2 separate regions of the Homo sapiens genome follow, and region 2 is linked to region 1. The links are contacts of gene promoters, found by promoter capture Hi-C in human tissues and cell types (Jung and others, 2019). All regions are on one chromosome and are shown on one strand. The core of a region is centred on a gene start or on the middle of the fragment in contact, and the rest is flanking DNA. Distances in the headings are between cores, read along the strand shown. Region 1 holds the start of ZFP42 (ZFP42 zinc finger protein). Region 2 holds the start of LINC02434 (long intergenic non-protein coding RNA 2434).

Evidence for each region. Contacts are between HindIII fragments. The study calls those that stand out against the background at their distance.
Region 2: a contact is called between a fragment that was not itself captured here and the fragment with the promoter of ZFP42 in region 1, in 1 of the 25 tissues and cell types used here (stomach).

The regions. Positions count from the first base shown.
Region 1 is chr4:187,993,388-187,997,777 of GRCh38, forward strand. ZFP42 (ZFP42 zinc finger protein) reads left to right here and starts at 2,384. Exons shown (of 4, transcript NM_174900.5): 1 at 2,384-2,453. RefSeq lists enhancers at 1,572-2,551, 2,552-3,533, 3,148-3,442. The HindIII fragment of the contact is 6,716 bases long and covers 1,005-4,390 here.
Region 2 is chr4:188,157,177-188,161,566 of GRCh38, forward strand. It overlaps LINC02434 (long intergenic non-protein coding RNA 2434), which reads left to right and starts at 2,877. Exons shown (of 2, transcript NR_187427.1): 1 at 2,877-2,926; 2 at 3,325-3,963. RefSeq lists an enhancer at 2,074-3,273. The HindIII fragment of the contact is 3,258 bases long and covers 267-3,524 here.

The sequences.
Region 1 (4,390 bases), core at 1,134-3,633:
CTAAAATTCCAGCAATGGACAACACTTTTTCTATGCATAACCTCTTTGTGGTCAATTTCAAGACAGCCCACTTCTGTTTCACGGTTTAATTGGTTCTCGAGCTCATTTAGGAGAAATTCAATTTCCTTTGAGCTGAGTTCATATCACAACAGATGAGTTCATTCGTTTTGGTTTCTTCTTCAGGCCCATGGAAAGGAAAGCTAAACGATAATGGGAGCAAAAATAATCTATGGAAGAGGTGGAGTGTGAAATGTAAAATTAGATTTTCTAAACATGCTGTCTCTAATGCCCAAACAGAGCCACACCCAAGCGATCAAATGGAATCAGTGGTAGGGGAGGCGATTATAAATCAATCTAGTTTATGGGATGCACTGTGTGAATGGTTAAGGGAGTGATAAAGGGTGGTTTCCGACAACCCAAAGAAAGGATCCTCGGCTTGAGCTAAGTGTGTGTGTTTCCATCTAGTGAGGAAAGGGGCTTTCAATGACATTGCCACTTAAAGGCTTACAAAGAAGGTTCTGGTCAACATTCTTCGGTTCATTGAAGTATTTCTTATCGAAACCCAAATGTTAACATTTTTATCTCCAAGGGAAACAAAAAAAAAGGCTGGTGGAATTCCCCTGTAGTTTCTAAAGAGGCCACAGCAAGGCGCCATAGAGACAGAAGGAGGGAAGTTGAGGGAAGTCCTTCTGACTGGTAAATCGGCTTTCTGACCCTCGTCTGCAAATAATACATTCTAAGGTAAGGAACTAAGGAAGCTTTATTGAAATCGGATTTCAAATGGAGAGGTCCTGCTATGCCTACTGGAGGAGATCAGGGAATAATAAATATTTCCTTCATTGAAAATTATATCCTATTGGCCAGGCGCAGTGGCTCACGCCTGTAATCCCAACACTTTGGGAGGCCGAGACAGGCGGATCACCTGAGGTCGGACCAGCCTGCCAACATGGAGAAACCCTGTCTCTACTAAAAATACTAAATTAGCCGTGCGTGGTGGTGCATGCCTGTAATCCCAGCTACTGGGGAGGCTGAGGCAGGAGAATCACTTGAACCAAATAGGCGGAGGTTGCAGTGAGGTGAGACGGTGCCACTGCACTCCAGCCTGGGGGACAGAGAAAGACTCCGTCTCAAAAAAGAAAAAAAAAGAGAAAGAAAAGAAAGGAAGGAAGGAAGGAAGGAAGGAAGGAAGGAAGGAAGGAAGGAAGGAAGGAAGGAAAATTATATTTTATTGGCCAACCTCAAAATTGAAGCTTATTCAGAAACAGATTTAAAAAAAGAAAAAAGTGGAGAACTGCTCCCAGATATATATGCAGAAAAGCTTCAAGTCAACATTTAGGAGGTTTTTAAATATCGATCTGGGTTTCGTTCTAATGGTCTGGGTGTACTTATACGACCTATTACATTTCACTAGACTGTAGCCAATAGTGAGCGTTGACTGACCATTGCTTTCAAAGTGAGTTGTGTTGCCTTTAGCAATACAGTCACATTAATGGCCAGAAAAAGAAAAAAGAAAACAAACACTGGGGGTGTTTGAAACAACTGGGGGTAGGGTGGGGTGGGAAAGGTGTGGGGGTTTGCGTTCGAGTCAACCTCTATTTCGGGGGGTAAAAACTGCCTCCTCCGCTTGATTTTTTTCCTCGATCTGCAAAAGCGTAAATGTTTTGTTTTGTTCTATTGAGATGGAGCCTCGCTCTATCACCCAGGCTGGAGCTTAGTGGCGCGATCTCGGCTCACTGCAACCTCCGCATCCCGGGTTCAAGCGATTCTCCTGCCTCAGCCTCCTGAGTAGCTGGGATTACAGGCGAGCACCACCATGCCTGGCTAATTTTTGTATTTTTCGGTAGAGACGGGGTTTCGCCATGTTGGCCAGGCTGGTCTCGAACGCTTGACCTCATGTGATCCCCCCGTCTCGGCCTCCCAAAGTGCTGGGACGACAGGCGTGAGCCACCGCGTCCGGCCTAAAAGGGTAAATGTGATTACACCCACGCGTATTTGTTCAACAGACATTTATTGAGCGCTCACCACGTGCCAACGCCGGGCGTCTGGGCTCTGGAGGCGCTGCCACGTGGCGGATGCGCAGTGCCCGGCGGCCGGGCTGAGGGGTGAACGCGGGGGTCAGGGGGCCCCGGGCTGAGGGTTTGCGTGCGGGCCGGGTGCCTGGGGGCCCCGGGCTGAGGGTGAGCGCGCCGCCCAGGTGCCAGGCGGCTCCGGGCAGAGAGTGAACGCGCGGGCCAGGTGGCTCCAGGGCGGCGCCCCAGGGCGGGGCCGGCCACGCCCTCCCTAACCCTGGCGGAGCTGATGGGTGGCTGTAGCCTGATTAGACCGCGTCAGTCCGGAGGGTGGGTCTTGGGAGGGGGCGCAGGGCAGTCCACGTTTCCACTGCAGTTTCTCCTTTGTTTTACGTTTGGGAGGAGGTGGCATTGGAAATAGCAGAGTGCTTCGCGGTAACAGGGGTGAGTCTTGTTTCATGGAACTTTTTTCAAATGGGGAGAAGGGGGTTGTGTTGCTCACTACTTGGAATGTGTCGGTCAAAGGGGTTAGATAGTCAGGGAGGGGAAGCGTGTTCTCATCCTGGGACCAGGCCGGAGCCGGCCTCGCCGGGAGACTTGTAGCCCTCGCCCTGCGGTGACCCGTGGCTGGCCACTGGCCTCAAATGTTGAAAACGGGCAGATGGGCAAGTAATACACTCTCAAGAAAGCAAGTGTCTGGCGGTGATTTCCTAAATTGCATTTTTTATTTTATTTCAAAACTTCATGTAAATATGTTTCCTTACAATATCTGGCTAAGTCTTTTCTATATTAACATGCTTACATTGTGATCAAGACACCAGTCTCTTCCCTTTCTTTTCCTCTCCTCTTATCTCTGGAGATGGCAATACCCCCAACTCAAATTACTCTAGCAAAAAACCTAGGAGACTCTTTCTTTTCTTTTTTCTTTTTTTTTGGAGACAGTCTCGCTCTGTTGCCAGGCTGGAGTGCAATGGCGCGATCTCGGCTCACTGCAACCTCCGTCTCCCGGGTTCAAGGGATTCTCCTGCCTCAGCCTCCCAAGTAGCTGAGATTACAGGCGCCCTTCACTGCGCCCGGCTAATTTTTGTATTTTAGTAGAGACGGGGTTTCACCATGTTGGTCAGGCTGGTCTCGAACTCGTGACCTCAGATGATCCGCCCGCCTCAGCCTCCCAAAGTGCTGAGATTACAGGCGTGAGCCACCGCGCCGGGCGAGACTCATTCTTGATTCCTGTTTCCCTTCCGCTCTTCATCCAATCCACCGGCGAGCTGCAGGGCGAGGGGGTGGTTCTTTCTCCTGTTTTCCCGCTCTCCCTGCATTTCATCTCCTCTGCCGCCATCTGCTCCAAACCCCTGGCAGCCCTTCGCGGGATTCCCAAATCTAATAGATTTTTCTGTTCTCCCCAAATCCATTCTCCATGCAGCTGTCCGGCCCATCTTCTAACCTAAAAAAACTTGCTGTTTGCTTGTTGGAAGCCCTGTAATGGTTTCCTTGGGACCTGGGATGAAATGCAAATGGTCCCGGGGCTCACCGTCAGCCCCGCGCCTGGGCCTCGCCCCAGCCCCCACCTTCCTGCCCGCCATAGCTGTAGGGAGCATGGAGCATGGAGCGTGGAGCGTGGAGCATGGAGCATGGAGCGTGGAGCATGGAGCATGGCCTGCAGCCCCCGGGGAGCGCCGGCAGCCTGGAACCAGCAGGCTTCGCTCGTCTCTTCCCACCCCCGTGCACTTTTCCTCCTGCCCACATCTGGCTCCGATGGCCCCCTCCTTGGGGGCCTTTTCCAGACATTCATGATGAAGGTGGCGTCCTCGGTTACTTCCCCTCTCATATTCTTTTTTTTTTTTTTTTTTTTTTGAGACAGAGTTTTGCTCTTGTCGCTTGGGCTGGAGTGCAGTGGCACGATCTCGGCTCACTGCAACCTCCGCCTCCTAGGTTCAAGCGATTCTCCTGCCTCGGCCTCCCGAGTAGCTGGGACTACAGGCGCCCGCCACCACGCCCGACTAATTTTTTTTATTTTTAATAGGGTTTCACCATGTTGGCCAGGATGGTCTCGATCTCCTGACCTCGTGATCCGCCCGCCTCGGCCTCCCAAAGTGGTGGGATTACAAGCGTGAGCCACCGCTCCCGGTCCCACCCCGCCCCGACCTTTTTTTTAATAGCATTTTTCTCAATCTGACATTTTTTGTTTATTTGCCCTTTACTGTCTGTCCCACACCAAACTTTGTGTTAACGAGGAACTTTGCATCTTTTTCCCTAAGTTCAGCACCTAGAACGAATACTAAATGTATATGAAGATTTCGTCCACATCCGCTTTTACCAGTATGTTTTCCATGTACAGTCAAGTTCCATATAAGGCCGTTTCAGTCAGTGAGCAACCCCAC
Region 2 (4,390 bases), core at 646-3,145, 160 kb after region 1:
CAAGAGCAAAACTCTGTCTCAAAAAAAAAAAAAAAAAAAAAAAGGCCTGGCGCAGTGGCTCACGCCTGTAATCCCAGCACTTTGGGAGGCCGAGGCGGGCAGATCACGAGGTCGAGAGATTGAGACCATCCTGGCTAACACAGTGAAACCCCGTCTCTACTAAAAATACAAAAATTAGCCAGGCGTGGTGGCGCATGCCTGTAATTCCAACTACTTGGGAGGCTGAGGCAGGAGAATCACTTGAACCCGGGAGACAGAGGTTGCAGTGAGCCGAGATGGCGCCACTGCACTCCAGCCTGGTGGCAGAGAGAGACTCTGTCTCAAAAAAAAAAAAAAGAAAAAATAATTTAAAAATTACAAATGATAAAATTAGGCCCAGTGTCTTAGAGAGTATCAAATAAATAAGGGCCTGAAACTTAAGTTTCTCTAGCTCCATTGTACATCTGCCTCTGGGTTAGCCAGATACGAAGATGAAGCACAAAGGCAGTAAAGCCAGGTCTGCTGGGTTCAAATCTCAGCTCCACCACTCACCACTTACTAACTGTACCAGCTTGTCTCCCCATGCCTCAGTCCCCTCATCAGGAAAATGTGTTTGAAAATAATATCCGGGCCAGTACATGGTAACCTCAGCAAGTTGGGAGGCCCAGGCAGGAGGATCGCTTGAGCCCCGCTCAAGACCAGCCTGGGCAATATAGTGAGACCCCAAGTAATACTATTACCAAAAATAAAAAGAATGAGCCAGGTATGGTGGCACACACCTGTGGTCCCAGTTACTAAGGAGGCTGAGGTGGGAGCATCACTTAAGCCTGGGAGGTCGAGGCTGCAGTGAGCCGTGATTGTGCCATTGCATTCCAGCCTGAGCGACAGAGCGATACCCTCTCTCAAAAAAAAAAAAAAAAAAAAAGGAAATAATACTGCTTCACAGGGCTGTCTAGGGCTGTCGTATGCATGAAATGACATAACACTTGTACTTGGAGCATCACTTAATTTCAGGTGTAAGCACTCAACAGTGCTAACTATGAATCGCTCCTCACCAAGCTTGGACGTCTACACTAGCATGACGCTGTTTGAGGTTTTAGACACTGCCCTGATTCCTCACAGTTCTGACCAAGAACCTGAAACTGAGGTCGGAATATTGCCTTCTATTCCTCCCATTTCTGCCTGGGGGTCCTGGTTCTGTCCTTACTGTCCTTACGGAAACTCTACCTCACCAGTTTTGCAATGGCCTCTGTGGGGTCCCCCAGTAACCCTTCTCCCCTACTTCACTTTCTTTCTGTGCCCTGACCAAGAATCACAGAGTGTCCTGACAGCTCTTCACCCAGCCAGGTGCAAGCTTCTCCCAGCACGCCCAAACCCAAACCGGGCCCAAACCGGAGTCTCGAACATTCCCAGACACTCATTAAGGTCTCGAGGTTGTCGCCCGAAACACGGAAAGAAACTGGCCCTGGCCCCTAACCAAATTTCTTAAAACTCTCACATTCCATAATCCCTGAACCCCTCACTGCAGACACACGCAGGTAGAACACCTTTTTTTTGAGATGGAGTTTCACTCTGTCACCCAGGCTGAAGTGCAGTGGAGTGGTCTCAGCTCACTGCAGCCTCTGCCTCCCGGGTTCAAGCAATTCTCGTGTCTCAGCCTCTTGAGTAGCTGAGATTACAGGCGCATACCACCACGCCCTGCTAATTTTTGTATTTTTAGTAGAGACGGGGTTTCACCACGTTGGCCAGGCTGGTCTTGAACTCCTGACCTCAGGTGATCCGCCCGCCTCAGCCTCCCAAAGAGCTGGGATTACAGGTTTGAGCCACTGTGCCCAGTCTCTCTTTTTTTTTTTTCTGGTTATTATATAAATACTTTTTAAAAATGTAATTTAATTTTCAGTTCTGGAATGTATGTGCAGGACACGCAGGTTTGTTACATAGGTAAACATGTGCCACGGTGGTTTGCTGAACCTATCACCCCGTCATTTAGGTATTTAAGCCCCGCATGTATTCACTATTTATCTTGATGTTCTCCCTCCCCCTGCCCCACCGACAGGCCCCAGTGTGTGTTGTTCCCCTCCCTGTGTCCATACAGAGCACCCCTTTCTCTCCAAGGATCGCTGTGGCCTCTGTAAGCTCCCCTCATAACTGCTCTGAACTGAGCACCCTGCTGATGAGGGCTTCTTTCTTTGGAATCCCAATCGACCCCATCCTGGAACAGTTCAGAGTACTCCCTTGTGGGAATTCCCCCGCCGCTGCTTTTGGGGTGATTCCAGCGTTGGGTTGGCTGGACAAAACAGCCTCGAAGCATACTGCCCCAAATCTGGTCCTTCTGAGTTTCTGATTCCCTCACTCTTCATCTCTTATGACGCCTTCCTAAACATTCCTGAGAGTTTCAAACATTGTCTTTCATTTGACTCAGGGATTCATCATCCGCTTCCTGTTGAAATAGTAAACGCCTCCACATGGACTCACGGGTTCACCTCCTTCCGGTCTGAACAGTGAACTCCTCCGCATCAACTCACCCATTCACCCCTTCCGGTCTAAACAGTGAACGCCTCCGCATGGACTCACGAGTTCACCTCCTTCCGGTCTAAACAGTGAACGCCTCCGCATCGACTCACGGGTTCACCTCCTTCCGGTCTGAACAGTGAACTCCTCCGCATGGACTCACGGGTTCACCTCCTTCCGGTCTGAACAGTGAACGCCTCCGCATCGACTCACGGGTTCACCTCCTTCCGGTCTGAACAGTGAACTCCTCCGCATGGACTCACGGGTTCACCTCCTTCCGGTCTGAACAGTGAACTCCTCCGCATCGACTCACGGGTTCACCTCCTTCCGGTCTGAACAGTGAACTCCTCCGCATGGACTCACGGGTTCACCTCCTTCCGGTCTGAACAGTGAACTCCGCATCGACTCACGCGTTCACCTCCTTCCGGTCTAAATGGTAAACTCCTCTGCATTGTAAGTCAGTGTCTAGAGTGGTGATTTGCTTTCTGGGGTGTGTTTTTCACAGTGATGGTGGATCCACAAATTTCAAACAAATTCTTTCTCCACCAGTTCTGTTCGGTTCTATTTTGGTGGGGCCCACGCGTCATCACAGAGTATCTGGGAGCCCTGCCCTCTTGCAGATGGGAATGAAGGCCCAGGTGCTCTGGAGAGGTGACTCTCCTCTAGGTGAGGGGTGTGTGTGTGAGAGGAGTGAGGTGCGGTGTGGGAGGGTCCTTGCAGGGTCCGGCTGCTTTCGGAGGCTGTTTTTCTCAGCTCCCCGTTTTGTCCCTCCAAATTGTGCCCCTCTCCTTCCAATTGTCACTCTCCTTTCCCCCAACCCTCCCTGTCTCCCAGTTGTCTCGCTTCTCAGAAAGGAAACACTGGTTCTGTAAACCTGTTTGAGAAGAAAAGCTCGAGGTTTCTTGGCCTCTCTGCTTCTGGAGCCAGGGGAAAAAATAGCCCCAGGCTGAAGACAGGAGGGACCAGATTGCTGCTTGGTGATGCGATCTCACTGCAGAGGCAGCCAGGAGACCCTCCTGAGACGAATCGGAGAGTCCATGCTGCTTTTACACACATCCTAGTTCTTTTATAACTAGCCTTTTCCTATTAACGGACATCATTCAAAAGCCAGTTTTAAGCAACATAAATATTGAAAACAATACTATACTATTTAGAATTAATTATAAGTTTTGTTTTTAAAGCCTAAATCTTTTATTGTTGTTTGAACCCTGGGCACTGAAGCTAATAATGTAACTTTTCTCCCTTCTTTCTTCTTTGGCATAGATTTAAAGAACTGTTAGACTCATTTAAAATGCTATTAGGCATTTTAAAGAGTAATTGTTAAATGTGTTGTCTCTTGTGGGACTGGAAATGTTCTGTTCTTATCTGGCGCTGGTTACATCCTGTTTTTCATTTGGGAAAGTGCATTGAGCTGGAAATTTATATGTTCAATTTCTGTATGTAAATTGTACTTCAGTAAAAATTTTCAAAAAAGTGGCTGCCTTTTATAGCAGGTGTCCCATGCGCATATATATATATATATATATATATTTTTTTTTTTTTAAGAAGATGACCTCAAGACCAAGACCTGTTTAAAGGTGGGGAAGGAAGCAGGATTTGGCAGAGGGATAAGTCTAGCTGCCATGCAGGGACAGCTACAGGCTGCCTCAGCCACACACAGGGCGCCCTGGAGCTAAATTGGCTCTGCAAACTAGCCTGGCTGGAGTTGGACTGAGATATCCTAGCCGTTAGGCACTCTTGGGCAAGGTGGCTCCCCCAGCCGAGGCAGTTCCTGAAGGGGCTGACAGCTGCAGTCAGTCTATCTGCCCAGGGGATTCCCAGCAAAAGAGGCAACCAATTGCTGGGAGGAATCTGGGACATGCATCAAAGTGTCCACGTTGGCCTGGCGCAGTGGCTCACA